2 separate regions of the Homo sapiens genome follow, and region 2 is linked to region 1. Evidence: promoter capture Hi-C in 16 types of primary human blood cells and fetal thymus (Javierre and others, 2016). All regions are on one chromosome and are shown on one strand. Each heading gives the region's core, a stretch centred on a gene start or on the middle of the fragment in contact. The rest is flanking DNA. Distances are from core to core; before and after follow the strand shown.

What was found. The method cuts DNA at HindIII sites, captures the fragments that hold promoters and counts their contacts. A CHiCAGO score of 5 or more calls a contact.
Region 2: a fragment that was not itself captured here is called in contact with the fragment with the promoter of PANK1 in region 1 in 1 of 17 cell types (erythroblasts); the score reaches 5.1 in erythroblasts.

Annotation. Positions count from the first base shown.
Region 1 is chr10:89,640,318-89,647,990 of GRCh38, reverse strand. It overlaps PANK1 (pantothenate kinase 1), which reads left to right and starts at 2,749. Exons shown (of 7, transcript NM_148977.3): 1 at 2,749-3,391. The coding sequence starts at 3,100. It overlaps PANK1-AS1 (PANK1 antisense RNA 1), which reads right to left and starts at 3,877. Exons shown (of 5, transcript NR_184344.1): 1 at 3,792-3,877. RefSeq lists silencers at 2,746-3,225, 3,926-3,975. The HindIII fragment of the contact is 3,186 bases long and covers 451-3,636 here.
Region 2 is chr10:89,369,563-89,377,264 of GRCh38, reverse strand. It overlaps a transcript of LIPA not described here. Among named protein-coding and RNA genes, the nearest start is that of IFIT1B, 4.6 kb to the left of the region's middle. The HindIII fragment of the contact is 3,422 bases long and covers 2,542-5,963 here.

The DNA.
Region 1 (7,673 bases), core at 1,500-3,999:
AAGTCAGGGGTGTCCAATCTTTTGGCTTCCATGAGCCACACTGGAAGAGGAAGAATTGTCTTGGGCCACACATAAAATACACTAACACTAATGATAGCTAATGAGCTAAAAAAAAAAAAGTCACAAAAATAAATCTCATGTTTATGAATTTGTGTTGGGCCGTATTCAAAGCCGTCCTGAGCCGCATGCAGGCTGTGGGCCACAGGCTAGACAAGCTTGATATAAGTCATTTATCCAGTCACAAATAATTACCAAGTGCCTCCTAGGGATAGAGTGATGAACAAGTCATCTGCCTTAAAGATGCTTACAGTGAAGTGGGGTAAGATGGGCAATCAAATAATAATAATGTCTTTTTCTAGCACTTACAATGTGCTGGACACTTTACATATGTTAACCTTAAATAATGAGATTTAGAGAACATGATTAAGTATGAAGTTTGAGTGCAAAGCTTGAGGATAGCCACCTGGAAACACTAACTCCAAATGAGTGGGATCAGTGCTCCAAAGTGGAGAAGTTAAGATTTCACTTATACTGGCAGAGATGGAGAAGTTCCAGCAGAATTACATTTTCCATACAAGACCAATGCATATGCCACAGCGATTTGATTGGTTGCAGACTGCTGCATTCCAAGGAAGATTATTACTCTGTGAGGAGAGGCAGTGATCCAAGGGATTAGTATCTCTGGCCCTGCTCGGTCTTCCTAATTATTTACAAGGAAAAAAGGCAAGCCCAGGCATGGTGGCTCATTCCTATAATTCCAATACTTTGGGAGGCCAAGGTGGGAGGATCGCTTGAGCCCAGGAGTTGGAGGCTACAGTAAGCTACGACTGTGCCACTGCACTCCAGCCTGGGTGAAGGAGTGAGACCTTGTCTTAAAAAAAAAAAAAAAAAAAGCAGAAGTTGTAGCTGCATAGCCACATTTCTCTCAAGTCTCACAAAAAAGTTCCAATAGCTTGAAGTTTGAATTAATTTTACGCATGTGTTATGCATTTCATCAGTCTAACAACTCAGTGATGTCCTATTATTCTCAAGTTACAAATGAGGGAACAGATGCATGGTATAGTTACAAAATGATAAGGAGTCATAAACAGAGTACAAGGAGTAGGAAGAGGGTATGGCAGGGAGACCTAATGTAGCCCTAAGGGTCAGGGAACATTTCTCTAAATATGAGAAGTTAAAGAGGAGATCTAAAGTTGGAGTCTAGTAGACAAAAGAGGTCTTAGAGAAGAGACTTCTCTAAGGCAATGGAAACAGCAGAATGTTGTTTAAGGAATTGAAGGCAGCACAGGGAGCCCCTGATGAGGCAGGAGAGGTAGGGAGGGGCCAGATCACCTGGGTTTTTTTCTCTGTCTTTAAATAGCATAAGGTTAGGGAAGCTAAGAGAGTTGAGATTTGGAGTTTAGTCCCACCTTTGCTCTTAATAACCTCAGCCATCTGTCTGCAGCTCAGTTTCCTGATACGAAAAAAGTATGCAAGAGTGGATAGACCAGAGTGCTCCAGTGGCCCCCATGGTTCTCAAGCTCTGATTCTAGGTAAGGCTCTGCTGGAAGGAATTGCCAGATGCAAGCCCTAGATGCTGCTGAATGCACTGAAGCCCAGGGGCCCAGCAACCCAGTAGCCAGCCAGCACCTGCCAGACTCTGACTCCTCTGTAGATTAATTGCAAATCACGGAGAATATCACAAAATAAATCACACAATAAATACGGCTGTAAGCATGGTTTGTTCCCCTGTCGAAACAAAGGGTGAACTGCTAATCATAATAGCGTAATAAGGAAAACTAGCTTTCTGAGCATTTACTGTGTGCCAGGATTGTACCAGGTACTTTTAGTAGATTTTCTCACAACAGCCCCATTATGGATAGGAAAGTGAGGCCTCAAGAGATTGCATAACTTTGGGAAGGTATTCACCACCCAAATTAGTCCTGCATAGTGAGCATGGACAGTCCCGTTTCCTATTGCTAGAAGTGTTACCTTGAGCATTAACGTTATCTGGGTTTGCTCAGTGGCTGAGTTGGAATTTGAACCCAGTGCTAACTCCAAAGCTCGTAGTGCTGGTCACCACGTGATGCCGCCTTCCCTTCTTAGAAGAGGCAACTCCTTACTCTATAAATAACATGACATTGTCTTTTGAAGTCCTTTCTGGGTGAGGAAAGTGCTTTTTATAGCATGGAATTGCTCCTGTTTACTTGATCTCTTTCAGCACCGATTAATCCTGCCTACAGTTTTGTCCTTCACTGTCCTTACACTGTATTCCTAGGTTTCCTCCCTGCAAAAGACAACTCCATGAGACCACATGGTGTTTGAGTGTGTGTGCGTGCCAGCAAAGAAATTTCACTCCCCTCCCTCCCCAAGTCTGCCAACTTTTCTATAAATAATTGTTCTCCCTCCCCTCAGGCCTCTAAGTAGTTTGGTCACTTAACCAAACGCACAGGCACACACGCGCGCGCGCGTAAGCACACACTCACAAAGCGGGGAGGGTAACGTGAATGACCTTGCAAAGGTATCTTGCTCACTGGGGACAGGATTAGCAAACCTGACACCTCTGCAAATAATTGTCTTCCTCCCGTATTCCTCCTGAAACGGTTCGCTCCTTTCGCTGTCTCTCCCAGACCCATCTGGTTTTCACATCGCCATACAAAGCCCAACCCGCCCATCTCCTCTCTGCAAGCCCAGAGAACTTGATTCCCCATGTTGAAACTCGTCGGTGGCGGTGGCGGGCAGGACTGGGCATGCTCAGTGGCGGGGACCAGTCTGGGAGGCGAGGAAGCCGCGTTTGAAGTCGCGCGGCCTGGGGATCAGGGGAAGGCGGGCGGCGGGAGCCCCGGCTGGGGGTGCGCGGGGATCCCCGATTCCGCGCCCGGGGCTGGCGTGCTCCAGGCCGGCGCCGTGGGGCCGGCGCGCGGGGGGCAGGGCGCAGAGGAGGTGGGGGAGTCGGCAGGAGGAGGGGAGGAGCGCCGGGTTCGCCATCCCCAGGCGCCGGCTCTGCGGCTGCTGAATCGGAAGCCGCAGGGAGGATCCGGGGAAATAAAGACGCCGGAGAATGACCTCCAGCGAGGCCGCCTGAGCCGGGGCCCGCGCACAGCCCCGCCAGCCCCCGGCATGGGCGACCGCAGCGGGCAGCAGGAGCGCTCGGTCCCGCACTCTCCAGGGGCCCCCGTGGGCACCAGCGCCGCCGCTGTGAACGGGCTGCTGCACAACGGCTTCCATCCGCCGCCAGTCCAGCCGCCGCACGTCTGCAGCCGGGGTCCAGTGGGCGGCAGCGACGCGGCGCCCCAGCGCCTCCCGCTCCTGCCGGAGCTGCAGCCGCAGCCACTGCTCCCTCAGCATGACTCCCCGGCCAAGAAATGCCGGCTGCGGAGGAGGATGGACTCGGGGAGAAAGAACAGGCCGCGTAAGTCCCGCTGGGAGGGGAGCGCGGGCGCAAGGCAGACGCAGCGTGCGGGGCCCGGGACTGGGAGCGGCTGAGGCAGGCGCCGCAGCACGCCCCGTGCGCCCCCGCGTCTGCGGTCGAGGGACTGCACAGAGTAGGTTCCCGGGACTGATTCTTTTCCTAGGGGACATCAAGCACTACAGGTCTTTGCCTGAGCCTGCCCTTTGCTCGCTTCTATCAGTAGAACGAGGATTGGACACGAAGCTTGAGCGGGTCCCTAGGTCAAGGATATATAATAAGCGAACGCTCTGTCCGCCCTTCTAATTGGTGGCTGGGAAAACGCAGGTGTGTGAACATTTGCTGGGGTCCAGGAGTGAGGATAAAGTGGGCGGCACACCGAGGGTGCTCTCTCCTTTCTCACCCCTCTCGCTTCTCTGAGCGCGTCCTACTGGGGTTGCCTGCCCTTTGAATCACAGAGTAGCCAGCAGCGTCTCGGGTCTATTGGAGAGCGCAAGTCTGGAGGCGTGGAGTTTAACTACCCCCCAAAATCACAGCCTATTAGAAGCTGTTTCTTCACGGCCAATGAGAGGGTTTTTTGGGAGGGACACACCCACTGATACCATGTGGGCCGGAACTATGTGGACCAATGAGGATTGGAGGTGGATTTTTTTTTTCAACGAAGGGGGAGGTTGAGTTGAGGGTTTGTAATTGTAATGTACACCGGAGAAAGCCGAAGTGCATTATTTCACAATCTAAAGCTTGTATATATAATGGTAGTTTGTAAAGTGTACCTTCCCCACAGGACGCTGTGGGATGTAAATTTGTAGGTCGAGTTTACAGCTGGTTTTTCTTGACTGAAGCTCATTCAACTGGTTACTTCTTTGTGGGTGTCTTTAATGAAGCTTATAAATGGCAAAAAGCAAAGTAAGTACAGTAAATGCTAATAAATGACTGCATTTGCATAGAGGTTATGCTGTTCGATATAGGGAAATTGTTAAGTAGGTTTTGGATTTCTGTGAAAGTTTAATGTTTGGCAAATAACACCTTCACTTTTCCCTGTTTCTATGTCTTTTTGACTCTTAGCTTTTCTGTATTGGATTAAGGTTTCTAAGACCTTGGAAAGCCCTTTGACATGACTGTGGGTGACTCTGGTACTTGTATTTTGTGGGTTTGAAATGTTAAATTTGTAGGTTAAGATTTTGTGTGGAACTTTAAAGCCAAACAGCAGATTTGGCTACAGTTGTAAGGTGTAAGGTTGTAATCTAGCACCTGAATTTTTATTTGCTTTTGTTTTTGATACTTGTTAGAAAATGACTTTCATTAGTATTAATATTTTAAAAGTCAGGACTTAATATTGATTACCTGTGATTTATAAACCTGTTTCACTTATTTTGAAGCTATACTTCAGTTATTTCTCTTATCTACATTGACAGATTGTACTAGAGTTTGCAATGAAAATAGCTAAAATATAATGAAAGGGAGCTTCTAGCTTAATCTTCTATGTTTAATTGAGGATATAACACCTCTTGAAATAACTTCTGAGGAATTGAAAATACACCCTCTAGGAATATCTTGAAGACAGAGAAAAACTAACCTGAGCCTTAACTTGTGCTTGCAAACCCACAGAAATTATTTTAAAATACAAGAAAATGTAACTATCTGCCTGTGTGCTTTGTATCAGAAATTAAAGTGGTTTATGTTTCTTACAGAATAAAAATCCTAGTTGTTTTAAGTTTCATGACCACGATTGTTACTTATAATTTTTAAAAAACGGTTCGTCAAAATTGGATTTACATTATTTACCATGTTTTCTTCTCTCAGATTTGAACAATCATGTCTGAAATAAATTTTACATGTTCCTAGGAGTCACATCTGGCCTTTTCACTACCAAAATTTCTTAGTTAAAAATGGCTTAACTTAATATCTTTGTGCCTTGCCTATTGACATTCACATATCTTTATAAAAAGAATATTGTCCAATCAGTTGATATTTAGTTACTCTAAGAGGAATTAGGTACTCTAAGAGGAATATTTAGGTACTCTGTGAGTATTTACATACTCTAAGCTTATTCCTATTTGCTGATGACTGACAGATTTTACAGGAACGATTTTTGCAAAGAGTAGTTGTGTGCTTTAAACGCAAACTTTAGTGTGTGCTGGTGGCGAAGCATCAAGCTAGACACATAATTATTTCCTCCTGGTCAGTTACAACAGTTTGGCCTCTGTCCCAACAAGATGTGTGTTAAGATAGCCAGTGTTAACACTTGTAAATGCACCTGGAATGCATGTGTGGATAGGTGTGTTTCTATTTTGTAGTATTGTAGGTAAAGGACAATACACATTAAAATACTTCATGTTTGAAAATGATGGATGGAATAAAACAGATCAGTATTTTTAGATTATTTAACAAATTTTAATCTGACCTCTCAGTGCCGAGACTATTCACCATCCTACAATCTAAAAGTCAGACCAGTGGCAGGTTAATTTTGCTAAACCAGGAAAGGAGAATGTTGTCCACTCTTTTCATCTAAAGTGCCATCACCTCACTCTACTTATTCTTGGAAGGCTTTTCTTAGACTATCTACTTACTATCAGGTTTCCTTAGGTACTTTACCCACCTCTGCTACTTAGCAGCAGTGTGATCTTAACCAAGTTACCAAGTCACATCTTGAACTGCTGGAGCTAGGCTAGGTGATCTCCAAGTGCTGTTTCCTGTACCTTCAGAATTCTATGACACTTCAGAGCTGACAGTTCTTCCTACTAGATGATACTAGTTATCTGCTGTGCCACTGATTTAACATTTAATTGTGAATGGACTTTTTTGCCTTGTGCTGATTTTTTTTTATTTTATTTATTTATTTATTTATTTATTTATTTATTTATTTATTTTGAGACGGATTCTCGCTCTGTCGCCGAGGCTGGAGTGCAGTGGCACGATCTTGGCTCACTGCAAGCTCCGCCTCCTGGCTTCACGCCATTCTCCTGCCTCAGCCTCCCAAGTAGCTGGGACTACAGGCGCCCACCACCACGCCCAGCTAATTTTTTGTATGTGAGTATCATCTGAAGGGCTCAAGGGCATGTGCTACCTTATGTGTGGCAACAGGCAGGAATAATGAGTAGATGCATGCAGTCAGCCTTCTGGTCGGAGGTTCTGACTTCTCAAATCATCCAGATAGCAGAAAATGAGTGAGAGTTCATTATGCAGGTAGCATACTGGTGGGTACAGACTGAAAAACCCCAAATCTGTTACCAGTTTTAGCCATCATTGTGAAAGTATAAGGCTTTAATTTCCTAAATATTGGGATGTTTAGCTTTGGAACTTGGACTTTACATTACCCTTGAATTGGGCTAATTAGAAAAACCAGTATAAAAAAGATAAATAAGGAAAATTTTCTGGTTGTATCTGCATAGAGTATGGATGCATACAGTATTTTTAACAATTAATTTTAACATAATCAATACTTCTACATGGATAAGAGACATTGCAAGTTCAAAAACAAAAGACTAAAAGGGAAAGCAGGAGCACACTCTAGTATTGCTACCTTCTAGAGTGTGGTCAAATTCCCAAGTTTGTCAATTAAGCTATGAATTGTACAATACACATTTGAATTGATGATTAATAATTTAAGGCCCAAGTGTCCAGTGTCCAACTGGTTAAGGATCAGGATTCTATTAAGCATACAAACACTGCTTTTCCTCCAAAAGACCAGTAAGTGAGTTTCAACATTAATATAATACAAAGCATATTTTATTTGGCATGGTGACCAAAGACAGGAACAGTGTTGTTGGTTCTTGATATGTGAGACATTTAACAAGTGACTAAAAACCTTTCATGGTTTTGGAGACAGAATAAGTAGGGGAAACAAATAAGTATTGGTTTTAACTGACAGGCTGTTTTGTCTGTGTGGGATAGCCTGCATTTTAATATTTTGTGTGTATATATGTTAAGTATGAGCCAATTATCATGAAAATTAATCAGGGCTTGACTTCTAATATATTTAACTACATATGCTTTAGGTTTAATAGGTAAGCCAGTATTCATCTTGGGACCTTGGGATGACAAGTATTTAGTGTATCCACTGTGGCATACAGAATTTCTAAGTAGACCTTTTCTCTAGATAGTGCAGCTGTCAAGCTTGGTATCTCTTTACTTAATTTATGACACCTTTTAAATGCCTAGAGTTGTTGGGTAATCGTGTGTGTGTTTGTGTGTGTGTGTGTGTGTGTGTATTCTCTCCTTGAGAGTACATTTGAGAGTAGTAGATGATTCAAAGGGGCAAAGAAATATTATTTAAAGAGAATTA
Region 2 (7,702 bases), core at 3,003-5,502, 270 kb after region 1:
TCTGTTTCTACTATTTTGAAGATTATCTGTTACAAAGCAACAACCATCAGAGAGTCAATCAAACAATGTTCACATGTTTAATGAAAAATTTATATGATCCCAAGGCTGATGTAATTGCCCACACAATTAGCAGAGAAAAAGGAAAATTTGGAAAGCTGCTATTCTGAATTCCTCTTGTGAATTGTTACAATGTCATCCTGTACGTTTCTGGATCTTGGTTTTGTAGGGGTAGTGCACCAAGATAAGCAAAAGGGCAAAGACTGAGAGCGATTTCCCTCTGAGTGAGCATTTCAAGGTAGGGTTATTAACTTCATTACAGTCTTCTCATAATTACCAAATGAAACTGTAGCCTCGCTGTGCTATTTCTTCTTTGTCCTGGGCCTGTAACTAGACTATATTTCCCAGGCTCCCATGTGGTAAGGTGTGGTCATGGGCATGGGATGGGAGGCTGTCAGGAAGCAGAAATGATTCTATAATTGGGTATCTTAAATTGTGTCTGGAAAAAGAGAAGACTAGACCAAGGTGACAGGTGTAATTTGAAAGGAAGCAGCAGTCATTCATATTGGCCAGTTTAAGGGGCTGCTTGATTATTTTCGAATCCAGTTGGAAAATATTCGTATTTTTGTCTGCACTCAGACCTGATTACAGAGTGGCCTTGTATTTTGTCTTGACCCATCATGGTCACAGGTGTTAATGATGCTCTCAGATGTCTGGGGCAGCTCTTCTCTTTCTTTTCAGGGAACTTCTGAGTTACTGCTCCAGTTACTGCTCCTGACCTTTCTAAAGCCAAAAATTATATAGACAAGAAGGACTACCCAGAAAAGGAACGTCACATAAGATCTTATGCATTCACAGTTGAAATGAGAGCAGACATCTTAGGAAAAGAATATGCTTAAGAAAGAGTATAGTATATAATCTCTCTCTCTATGTGAATTAAAAACCCATCTCCACGTCTATTCAAGGAAGGATTTAGGCAACTTGAGATAGACCACATCTCCCCATTCGCATGAGACAAGTTCCTAGAAGAATGTGCTGGACCTCTTGACTTCTTCTTCTTTTTTTTTTTTTTTTTTTTTTAAGATAGAGTCTCGCTGTATCACCTAGGCTGGAGTACAGTGGCACTATCTCTGCTCACTGCAACCTCTGCCTCCCAGGTTCAAGTGATTCTCATGCCTCAGCCTCCAGAGTAGCTGGCACTACAGGTGTGCACCACCATACCCAGCTATTTTTTTGTATTTTTAGTAGAGATGGGGTTTCACCATGTTGGCCATCCTGGTTTCGAACTCCTGACCTCAGGTGATGCACCTGTGTTGGCCTCCTAAAGTGTGGGATTACAGGTGTGAGCCACTGCACCTGGCCCGTCTTGACATCTTACAAGCACAGGATATCATTTAGATCCATGTATTCTTCCATAAACCCACCAAATCTCAACATTACTTAAGTAATGAGAATCCCCATTTTATTCCTTGAGTATACTCTAATAATAAAAGTAGGCAGAAAAATTCTCTAAGCATAATGACAGCACAGAAATGGAGGTTAGAACCATTCAGGGGAATGAGGGAAAGGAAACTAGGCCCACGTAGCCCTGCTGTGGAAGACCAAGTTTGCTGAAAGGGAAGAATGATTGTTAGTCAAACATTGTTCCATCTGGGGTTGAGCAAACCAAGGCCATTAGAAAAAACCTTCTACACCTGTCAGGTGACAGAATCACCTGATGGAGGGGGTTCTGCACAGATATTTGCCATCTTGTTTATTTTGGGGTTGTGTACTCTGAGTATAAGACAATAGCACCCCATCATAGAACAACCATTATTCTATATTTGGGGCCAATGGGATGTTTTCTTCTGAGGTTTCCTTTCTTGCTCTGCAGCTTGGGCATAATGAGAACTATTAAAACCCTTTACCTTTACTTGTCTTTGTGCGCACAAGATGATGTTGCTCAGTAGTGAAGGCCACCTGGAATCAGACTACCTGGGGTCATTAATGGACTTTGCTGCTTACTGGACATGTGATCTTGGGATAGTTGGTTCACATTTCTAAGCCACATTTACTTACCCATGGAATCGGAATAGCACTAGGACTTTCGTCATGGGGTTATGTTGAGATGAAGTGGGATATTGCATGGAAAGCATGTCTCATTTAACAGCATTCAGTAATTGTGAGTGTTGCTTTCACAGTGTGGGACAAGTCCCCTTATCTGTGCAGTCTGTGCTGACCATTAGCTGGAGCCCTTCCAGACTACAATTTTTCCCAGTGGGCACTGAGAGAGAGGTGTTTCATGTCATATCTGACTGTGCAGCTGCTGAGATAGGGGTGTCCTGTTCTGAGCTTCAGGCCAGGGCAATCTACATATTCCCATCTCAGGCTCAGGTCAGGGAGCCCTGGCCATATCTACACATAGAGCCCAGCAGTACCTCTTGGGCAGCAGGCATTCAACCTCTCCCTAGTGAGGATGGACCTGTGTAGGGGGAGAAGAGATTTTGGAATGGGACTCATTTCCTCTCAGCTCTCTCTCTCCAGTTCTGTATCAGATGGGAAGCTTCTAGGAGGCCAATTGTGTTTTCAGATACAAATATCTTCTGTAAGGCACTAGCCCTGAATCAACTCTAAAAGGGATAGAAACATAAGCAAATACTGAAATGAACATTAGGAGAGCTGCTTACACTGAGAGTAGTATGACTTTGGAATTTTCATGCATAAAATTATTGCTAGTAACAGCGTGTCAGAGAAACAGAGTGAGTGTTTGTCATGTGGTCACTGAATTTGGCAGCAGTCCTGGTTCTGTGAGGCTCTGGCTCAACTGATTAGGTATTCAGGATCTGGCCCAGTGTGTCCTTGGATAAATACAGCCATGAACCACACAGGACAGAGCAACAATAAGGAAACAGCCAACACATTGTGTAAGAGAGAGAGAGAGAGAGTGTGTGTGTGTCTGTGTCTACAAATAGGAAAAAAACAATGGAAACTAGAGAGGGAAACTCATTTCTAATGGGCAGGATGCCTACTTGTAGAAATGAAACTTAAGCATTGGAGAAATAAAACTTAACCACTATCAACATTCCAGAACCAGCTCTGTGTTCGACGAACTAGCAGAGTGAACTTGATTTCACTTAAACACTGAGTTTCCTCATCAGGTATAGAAAAAGGTTGGCCTTGAACAGTGGTTTACAACCTTGGGCTGCAAGGTTGTAAAATTCCTTGGAAGTCTTTTAAAAATGCAGATGCCTGAGCCAATCTCCAGCCCAATCAATCAGAATCTCTGGAAGTGAAGCCCAGGCATGAGTATTATCAGTAAGTTTTCTGAAAAAAGTAATCCCAAAGTGATTTTTTTGTGCATGGTTTAAAACCACTAGACTAGATTTTTGCTACTCAGGATATGGTCTGTTACAGTGGCATCCTCAACTACTAAAAGCCCAGAAATGCAGAATATCAGGCCCCTCTACAGATCTCCTGAATGAGAACTTGCCTTTTAACATGTCCAGATGATTTGTTGGTACATTAAAGTTTCACAGATACTTTTCCAAATGATCCCTGGATCCCTTTCAGGTCCAAATGCTTTGGATCAGAGACTAATTCCTAATAAATACCTATTTTCTATGAGGCTCTGAGTCTAGAACTTTATTTTTCTATGCTTTGGTTTCCCCTTGTGCACCTTAATAATCCATGCAATACCAGAAAGGATGTAGGTCAAAGTGCACTGACCTCTACAGAGAGTGTCTGATGTTTGCTTTTGAGACTACTCATGTTTGCAAACTTGCACCAATCATGTCCACAGAGAAAATACTCAGCTACTAGGAACTTCTCTGCTCTGAAAGTCCTGGTAATCTTCATACCACCTCAGGGGTCTTGATGGCTATCTTTGGGCTACTCTGATTTACTTTTCTGGCTGACTCCCACGTGTTCCAGTTTTTTTTTTTTTTTTTTTTTTTTGAGAGGGAGTCTCGCTCTGTCGCCCAGGCTGGAGTGCAGTGGTGCAATCTTGGCTCACTGTAAGCTCTGCCTCCCGGGTTCACGCCATTCTCCTGCCTCAGCCTCCCGAGTAGCTGGGATTACAGGCACCCACCACCACGCCCGGCAAATGTTTTTTGTATTTTTAGTAGAGACGGGGTTTCACTGTGTTAGCCAGGATGGTCTCGATCTCCTGACCTCATGATCCGCCCGCCTCTGCCTCCCAAAGTGCTGGGATTACAGGCGTGAGCCACCGCGTCCGGCCCCACGTGTTCCAATTCTAACTGAATTTCTGTGCTTTCATTGTTTTACATGTCAAATATTCATTCACCTGGAATTGTCTATATAAATTGTAGGAAGCATTTACATCACTGAACTAGACTCAAGATATTTCATAGATCCTATAATGTCTATTGGAAAAGTCCTCAGGTTCCCGGAAAGCAAGTTGTTTTTAGACTGTCTGAAGTATCTTGGGACTTGAAAAGTCCATGTCTATAAAGGAAATGAGAAGAGGTGAAGATGTTTTCTAGATGCAATTGAAATTTAGGATTATACATTGAGCTGAAAAAAGAAGTTCAATGCCATTCCCATGGTTCTGGGAAACCCACAGAGGTTTAAGGAACCTGCGATCCAAACATATTGTTAGCATGGCCAAGGCAGACTTCATTGCTCTAAGCTCCTTGTCCATTTCTATAATCAGCAAGCTATGAATTATCATTAGGTACAGGCCAGGTACTCTGTTGGGACACATAGGGCATGTTTCCTCTTCTCAAGTGACCTGTCATGTAGCAGGAGACAGATTGATAAGCGCTTAATTTGCTTTTAATAAAAACAGTACACATTGGTTGCTTTGAAATAACAGAGAATTGGATGTTTATCTCTTCCTGAGGTTCATGAAAAACTTCCTCAGTTAACTTTTGGTCTTTAACCTGAAGTGTTTGGCAAAATCATAATCCTGTTGTCTCCCCCACTGGAAGAATACTTCCAAGACTGTCTAGTCTGTGAGCAGGTCTGACCCCAAAGGGTCCCTGTGGCTACTCTTGCAGTGTGCAATGATGCTGGCTGCACACACTAGGGGAAAGGCTTTGGTCTAGGACCATAAACCTGTTCTTGTATCTCAAGTCATGGTAATCCTGCAAAAGCAGATAAGACAGAATGTGCAACGGTGAAACTGCCAGCTGACTACCAAATTAGTACACCGGAGACGGGAAGTTTTCTGTGATAGGGGCCTCTATGAGGGGCTTCCTCCTACTCTCTACCCTCAAGTAGGTCCCATATTTGTGTTGTTCCCTTCTTTGTGTCCACATGTACTCAGTGTTTAGCTCCCACTGGTGAGTGAGAACATGCAGTATCTTGTTTTCTGTTTCCATGTTAGTTGACTTAGGATAATGGCCTCCAGCTCCATCCATGTTGCTGCAAAGGACACGATCTTGTCCTTTGGCTGCATAGTATTCATGCAACCAAAATTTAGAATCTTAAATTAGATGGGCTAAAAAGAACATAGATCAACACCCATGTTATTCCTATAGCTCTGAGAATTCCAAGGATGTTTAAGGTTCCAATGGTAAAAATAACTGGTCAGATGGTAGGCGATCTTTACAAGTAGTACTCACAAGCCTCCAAAGCAGCATTCATTGTCAGGGGCTTCTCATCAGTTCAAACGTTCAGCAAACCAGTAATGCTTACCTGTGTTATGCCTGGCATTCTGAGAACACCAGTTGGTAAAACGATGGAGATGCCTCTTCTTCCCCTCCATCACTAGTGGTTTGCTGTCTCGTGGGAGACAGAGACAGATTAGAACATATTTGATTTTATTGTACTAAAACATGTACAGTTTAGATGCTGTGTAAGCACAGAGAAAAGAAATACTACTTTGTGAGGCTCATAGAAGACATTTTGGATCATGTTATTGATCTCCAGCCCTAAGGCAAATAAAGAGTTATAGTTCTGATGTGAACTAAAATGGAGAGTCATGGAATTATCAAGATTCTCCATCTGTAAGCAGGCCACAAGCTTAGCCTTGTTAACCCATATGTCTTAAGCCATATGCATTAAGATCATGAAGTGGCAGTGGCACATGATGTAGGAGTGGCTGGTCTTTCATTAGATACTCTTACCCACCAACTTATCCAGGCTGTCTGTATGAGTTCTGTGATATCTCCTTTTGGTGGGATCTGGCCAGTGCCTACTTGGGCTGATTACTGCTTTAAATGAACAGTTCTCAAATGGGGGCAATTTTGCCCCTGGGGGCATCTGGCAATACTTGGAGAAAATTTTTTGTTTGTTTGTTTGTTTTTTTGAGACAGAGTCTCACTCTGTCACCCAGGCTGGAGTGCAGTGGTGCGATCTCGGCTCCCTGCAGTCTCTGCCTCCTGGGTTCAAGCAATTCTTCTGTCTCAGCCTCCCGAGTAGCTGGGAGTACAGGTGCCCACCAGCATGCCCAGCTAATTTTTGTACTTTTTCAGTAGAGATAGGGTTTTCCATGTTGGCCAGGCTAGTCTTGAACTCCTGACCTCAGGTGACCTGCCTGCCTCAGCCTCCCAAAGTGCTGGATTACAGGCATGAGCCACCACACTTGGCCCCTGGAGACACTTTGGATGATCACATCTGGAGATGTGGGTGCTACTGACATCCAGAGGTCATTGCTGATGCTAAACATCCTATAATGTACAGAACAACCCCTCACAGCAAAGAGTTATCTGGCCCCAAATGGCAATAGTGCTTAGACTGAAAAACCCTACATTAGTTCCAAAAGGACTTTCTGCAATGTTAAAAATGTTCTAGGGTGGGTTGGGTGGCTCACACCTGTAATCCCAGCACTTTCCAAGGCCAATTGGGAAGATCACTTGAGTCTGGGAGTTTGAGACCAGCCTGGGCAACATGGAGAGACCCTGTCTCTACAAAAAATAAAATTAAAAAAAAAACTTAGCCCGATGTGGTGGTGTGAGCCTGTAGTCCTAGTTAGTTGGAAGGCTGAGGCGGCAGGATTGCTTGAGCCCAGGTGTTTGAGGCTGCAGTAAGCCATGACTGTGTTGCAGCACTCCAGCCTGGGCAACAGAGACAGATCCTGTCTCAGAAAAAAAAAAACAAAACAAACAAAAAAAGAAAACATTCTAAATCTGTGCCACCGCTAGCTATATATTACTATTGAGCACTGCAAGTGTAACTAGTGCATCTGAAGAACTGAGTTTTAGATTTTATTTTAATTAATTTAAATATAAATTGAAATAGCTGCATAGTGGCTTCATATCAGACCACCCAGCTCTACATAAAAGCCTGCAGTGTCAGATGCTGGGGGTTCCCCCACACACCTGATGGAAGCAGCACTTGCCTTCGGTAGCACATAGCAGTTTCTTGAGCTGCAGCTTTTATAGCTTTAATATAGTTCATTAAGAAACTTCCTACATTTTCTGGGCACAGTGACCTTTGGCTGTATGTGGGGAATATAGTATGCATTCCTGCTCCAGAGGAGACTAGGAATGCCATTCTCTCTGCCTTTCCTTCCATCCATATATACTGATGAATCTCCTTTTTAAAAAACTCAAAAGATCTGTGTGCTAGTATCTAAGACTTTATATTCAGGGGATAATTTGCTGAGAAGTAGCAGCTGAAGGCAGTAGAGGGCGCAAATACCTCTATATAGGAAACACTTCTATTTAGGAAAAACTCATTAAAAAGCATTATCTGTTGTCCATAGAATATTCTTTTATGACTCTCTTCATTAATCTTCCTCCTTCAGCTATTTCATGAACTT